2 separate regions of the Homo sapiens genome follow, and region 1 is linked to region 2. Evidence: promoter capture Hi-C in 16 types of primary human blood cells and fetal thymus (Javierre and others, 2016). All regions are on one chromosome and are shown on one strand. Each heading gives the region's core, a stretch centred on a gene start or on the middle of the fragment in contact. The rest is flanking DNA. Distances are from core to core; before and after follow the strand shown.

Region 1 (2,700 bases), core at 40-2,539, 190 kb after region 2:
GAATTATATTAAATGAGAGTTCGATAAGTATTAGATAGTCTCATCCAGCCAACCCATAGTTTGCCTGCCATACATTCTTATGTAAAAAAAGCTAGACAGAGGCAGACGTTCTAAGACCAAGGCTTTTTTACATGTCTAAATCTTATGCATCGTTTAAGGCCCAGGTCAGACTGTATGACCTCAGTGAAGCCTTCTTGGACTCTAACAGGTAGAAATCCATTCTCTTCTTGCATTCTTAGTATAGACATGATCACTTCATAATTTGCAAGACTGTGTTTATATACAGGTCTCCTCTAACCTACCCCACAGTAAGCTCTTTGATTTCTAGGATCTTAATCATGTCTTCGCTGTTCATGTCACCAGTATGCCTTATACAAAGTAGGTGCTCAGTAACTATTTGTTAAATGAATAAGCTTTCATCTGGGTGGGATTTCCTCACAGTTATTTATTTTTATTCATTAAAGAAAACATGAAGAAGTATTAATCATTTGATTTGAGAAACATAGCATATTTTCCAGTAATTTTCTCCCCTTACTCTTATGCTATGCCAACGCAGGTGTCTTTTGAGGAACTCTGTATCTATTGATTTATTCAGAACTTATATCCCACCTTCTTTCAAAGGGATGTGAAAGAACATACTAAATTAAACCTAATGTGAAATAGGACAATTATGGCTAAAAAGAAAACAGAGACCATCTCAAAGAAGCAGGGAGCAGATGTTACCAGGCACCTGGGATGAGCTAATTACTATACTTGGTAACTGAATTTGGCTCTGCATTTCTTGGCAGCTAGAGCTGAAAGGAAACACATTGGGTTATTCATTCAGCAAACGTTTGTTGACTATCTTTGATAAATGGGGCACTGTGCTAACCCTGGGGATTCTAAAGTGAATAAGCCTGGGTCCCTGGCTTCAGCACATCACTTAGCCTGAGTTAAGTGACTGGAGATAGGTATGAGGGGCAATGGAAATACAGGGAAAGGACATTGACTCTGTTTGTAAGGGGAGCCAGGGAATGCTCAGGGAAGAGCAGATGATTTCACCAAACAGTTCAGTGAGGGAAATGCATTTCTTGTGTAAGGAACAGAATATCCAGAGACCAAGAGGCCTCAAAGATGTGTTTGTGGAATGATGCGTTAGGCGAAGGAGTAGCAGAAGGTGAGTTTAGAGGGTTGAGTAGGGGTCAGATTATGCTGGACTTCATATGCCATGTGGAAGAATTTGATGTTAACCTCTTGGCCAGCGTTTGCCAACATGGCTGCACACAGGAGCCACTGGGGAGCTTCCTGAATCAGAATCTCTGCAAGCAAAGACTGGGAATCTCTATGCCCATAGCATGCCTTGGTTGATTTTCATGCAGTCAGCCTTGGCACCAGTTATTGGATCAAGTTTGTGAATCGCTGTGGCATGGGCTAGAGAGAAACCCCTGCAAAAGTTTAAGCAGGGGGAATATCTTACAGATGTGGATTTTAAAAACTACCTCTGATGTGGAAAAACGGGTCAACAAGAGCAGACATAAGATTGGAGGAAGGGACCAATATGAGCTTATTTTGCTCACTTGATATGAGCACTGAGCACAATATCTGGCAGAGAGAGGTGCTCAAAAAGCAACTCATTGAATGTAAAAGCTGGTTTTACTTACAGTGTTCTGTGACTTCTGGGAACATGTAGCTGATTCTGGACAATTGAGCAGAAGTGAGATGTGATAGATGTATGGGGTCAAATAGTCCCAGGTGCAGATTTTAGTTTCATCCCTGGGCAAGTTGTTTTAAACCTCTCAGAGCGTAAATGGTGGGAAAAATAATCCTAAATTTGCATAACTTCTGTGAGGATTAAATGAGATAACACATATAGCATAAAGTGGCAGAGGACTATTTCTCTTTCTTTCTCTCATTACATTCATAAACAATAGCCAGAGATGCTTTGACTATCTCAGTTCTGTTCTGATTATCTGTTGCTGTATGTTCCACAGTGAGCAGGTCTATGCAAACCTAACCTCAAAGGCTGAGGGAGTTGAGAGGCTGAAGAAAGAGACTGACAAATGCAGTTTCTCTGAGAGGAACGTTTAAGAGAAACTTAGGAACAGAAGCCGTGTCTTGGGATGGCCTCTAGACAGTGGATCCCCATACCTGCCCTCCAGAGAGTATTCCTTATTTAGCAAGCTTTTTTTGGTAAAATGTGCAACTGGTCATGTCTTCAACCCTCTTGTGAAACTCACCACTGGGGAAGTTAGTTAAGTGTTTTTATGAGGGATTATCTATGCTACAGGCATTGCTTCTTTATGAGGGGTTATTTATGCTACAGGCATTGTTTCTTTATGAGGGGTTATCTATACTATAGGTGTTTCTTAACCTTGCTGCAGGAGTCAGACATCAGTCATTATGGTGGTTTTGCTTCAAGATGGCATTACTCTTGCCATGCAATAAGCTGTTTTCCTACACTATATAGCAAACTATACCAAACTTAGAAGTATAAAACAACAGCCATTTTACTCTACCGATAGATTATGTGCATCAGAAATTCAAACAGTACAAAGTAGTGATGACTATGTTGCTGCCCTATTATATTTGGGGCCTCAGCTGGGAAGAATGGTATGACTGGAGAGTGGAATTATCTAGAGTGCCCTGGTGGGGATGACATGAAGGCTAGGTCCAGGCAGGACTATCAGCTGGAACACCTGCTCACTTCTGAACTCTACATGT
Region 2 (2,851 bases), core at 352-2,851:
CTGTGAATAACAGACTTAAAGGAAGTATCCTTTCCAGATGAGCTGAAGAATGTCATCCTCTTAAAAGAATGAACAGCTGGTCATGTAGAAATTCTCTGGAATGCTCACTTGTCCTACAAAGGCAGGGGAGCAGAAAACATGTAGTTTTTTTGTTATTGGTATACATAATTGTAAATCTTCGAGATAATTTTACTAGAAGTCCACATAATTTTAATAATTGCCTTTCTCCTGAAAAGATTGCTAATAAATTAACAATGTGAAGGCTAGAAAGCTGGCCAAGCATAATCCGGTGGGACTCAGGATTGCTGGCTGGATTGTCCCGTTTGATCAGACATTGTTTCTTAGATGAATATTCAGGACGCCCTCGTGTATAAAAGTTGTCCTTTGTTCTGACTACCTTGGTATTAAGTTCGAATTTCTTACCATGACACACAAAGGATTCGATTCTTGCTTAGCTCTCTAAGCTCCTCTCACTTTCTCTTCCCCTCTTGAATTCTTTGCTCTTGCCACACAACTAGCAGATGAACTAATCTATCTGTTCCAACGTGGGCACAGTAGCAGCCGTAACTCTTACCTTGGCCCACTCTGACTTGTCCAGCCCTGGTTGAATTCTTCGTATCCCCGTGAGGGTCCGCACGTAGTTGGGGCTGTTTACTAAACGGATGAACTTCCCTACCGGGAGGCTAGGTCTCGGTTATGCCTTACTTCCCAGGAAGCGGCTTCTATAGGCATTGTTTAAATGTAGGAGTAGGAGGGAGCTGGGGGTATTGCATTCCCCAGGTCACAGATAAATGAGATTCCAAAACCAAGATCTGGCTAGGCCTTGGAAAGAGGGACCTGCGAGGCCGACCAGACGTTTGGAACTGCGCCTTGCAGTGTGGGATCTCAGCACCGGATATTACCCCGGTTTGTAGAGAGTTGAGTTACTGTTTTAAGAGACGTTGCAAACCGTACGGGTCAAGAAGAAAGCCGAAGACGGGTTAGCGCCTGCGGTCGGGGTCGAGAAAAGCAGGCGAGATGCGACCTGACGTGGGTCCGCCTCTCTCCACCCGTGGCAAGCCCGACAGTCGCACTATTGCTTTAACAATCGCCCTCTTTCCAAGAAGAGCTACTTAGTGACCGTGAGCGAATATGCGTGGGAAGACACGATGTCCTCTCGGCCTCTGTGCGCTCAGTTGTTTACCTAGGCGTCCGGGGGAGGCACACTCGCGGGACTCGCGGGACTCGGCCCCGGCCTCCCAGCTCGCCCAGGACACGACGCTGGTTCTGCGGGCTCTCGGAGCCCAGCGCGAATCCCCCGGGCTAATTCCCAAGAACCGAGAGGCAGCACTGCCTGGAGGCTGCCCCCGCCTCCGCGCCCCCGTCCTCACTTTCTGAGGCTGTTAGCAGAGAGTCCCGCGGGCCGGGGAGAAGCGGGACGCGGGGGATGGCCTCGCAGCGCCCTGTGAGCGTCGGCAGTAGTCAGGCAGCCAGGGCTCCTTGGGCGATCGCCCTGGGTAGAGGAGAGGAGTTTCCGGGGCTCGGGTCCGGGTCGCCTTCCAGGGGAACGAGCGCGGAAGCAAGTGGGCGGCGAGAGGCGGAGCAAGAGACGCTGGAGGGCGTGGACGCAGCGGGCTTTGGAAAGGCCCCAAGTTAATGAGGCGTGCGCCGGCTGCCGAGCGCCTCTTGGAGCTGGGCTTTCCCCCGCGGTGCGGGCGCCAGGAGCCGCCTTTTCCGCTGGGTGTCACTCGGGGGTGGGGAAGATGGCCCATTCAAAAGCGCCGCGAGGGGGCCCGGCCAGTGCCCTTCAGTGAGCGCTCGCAAGAGGACGGCAGAGGCCCGGCAGCTCGGAGCTCCGGGACCTTGTGGCGCATCAGGACGCGGCTGTCCCTCTGCCGGGACCCAGAGCCGCCGCCGCCGCTCTGCCTCCTGCGTGTTAGCCTCCTCTGCGCGCTCCGGGCAGGCGGCCGTGGGAGCCGCTGGGGCGAGGACGGCGCGAGGCTGCTGCTGCTGCCCCCGGCCCGCGCGGCTGGAAACGGAGAGGCCGAGCCAAGCGGCGGCCCCTCTTATGCTGGGAGGATGCTGGAGAGTAGCGGCTGCAAAGCGCTGAAGGAGGGCGTGCTGGAGAAGCGCAGCGACGGGTTGTTGCAGCTCTGGAAGAAAAAGTGTTGCATCCTCACCGAGGAAGGGCTGCTGCTTATCCCGCCCAAGCAGCTGCAACACCAGCAGCAGCAGCAGCAACAGCAGCAGCAGCAGCAGCAACAACAGCCCGGGCAGGGGCCGGCCGAGCCGTCCCAACCCAGTGGCCCCGCTGTCGCCAGCCTCGAGCCGCCGGTCAAGCTCAAGGAACTGCACTTCTCCAACATGAAGACCGTGGACTGTGTGGAGCGCAAGGGCAAGTACATGTACTTCACTGTGGTGATGGCAGAGGGCAAGGAGATCGACTTTCGGTGCCCGCAAGACCAGGGCTGGAACGCCGAGATCACGCTGCAGATGGTGCAGTACAAGAATCGTCAGGCCATCCTGGCGGTCAAATCCACGCGGCAGAAGCAGCAGCACCTGGTCCAGCAGCAGCCCCCCTCGCAGCCGCAGCCGCAGCCGCAGCTCCAGCCCCAACCCCAGCCTCAGCCTCAGCCGCAACCCCAGCCCCAATCACAACCCCAGCCTCAGCCCCAACCCAAGCCTCAGCCCCAGCAGCTCCACCCGTATCCGCATCCACATCCACATCCACACTCTCATCCTCACTCGCACCCACACCCTCACCCGCACCCGCATCCGCACCAAATACCGCACCCACACCCACAGCCGCACTCGCAGCCGCACGGGCACCGGCTTCTCCGCAGCACCTCCAACTCTGCCTGAAAGGGGCAGC

The links. Contacts are between HindIII fragments. The CHiCAGO score rates a contact against its expected background, and 5 or more counts as called.
Region 1: a fragment that was not itself captured here is called in contact with the fragment with the promoter of PHLDA1 in region 2 in 3 of 17 cell types (M0 macrophages, M2 macrophages and endothelial precursors); the score reaches 7.6 in M0 macrophages.

The regions. Positions count from the first base shown.
Region 1 is chr12:75,840,405-75,843,104 of GRCh38, reverse strand. No RefSeq gene overlaps it. Among named protein-coding and RNA genes, the nearest start is that of PHLDA1-AS1, 190 kb to the left of the region's middle. The HindIII fragment of the contact is 1,747 bases long and covers 416-2,162 here.
Region 2 is chr12:76,030,526-76,033,376 of GRCh38, reverse strand. PHLDA1 (pleckstrin homology like domain family A member 1) reads left to right here and starts at 1,601. Exons shown (of 2, transcript NM_007350.3): 1 at 1,601-2,851. The coding sequence starts at 1,636. The coding sequence ends at 2,841. PHLDA1-AS1 (PHLDA1 antisense RNA 1) reads right to left here. Exons shown (of 2, transcript NR_186034.1): 1 at 2,783-2,851; 2 at 1,999-2,466. PHLDA1-DT (PHLDA1 divergent transcript) reads right to left here and starts at 1,564. Exons shown (of 2, transcript NR_185978.1): 1 at 575-1,564; 2 at 1-113. RefSeq lists an enhancer at 1,446-1,695 and a silencer at 1,916-2,065. The HindIII fragment of the contact is 8,299 bases long and covers 1-2,851 here.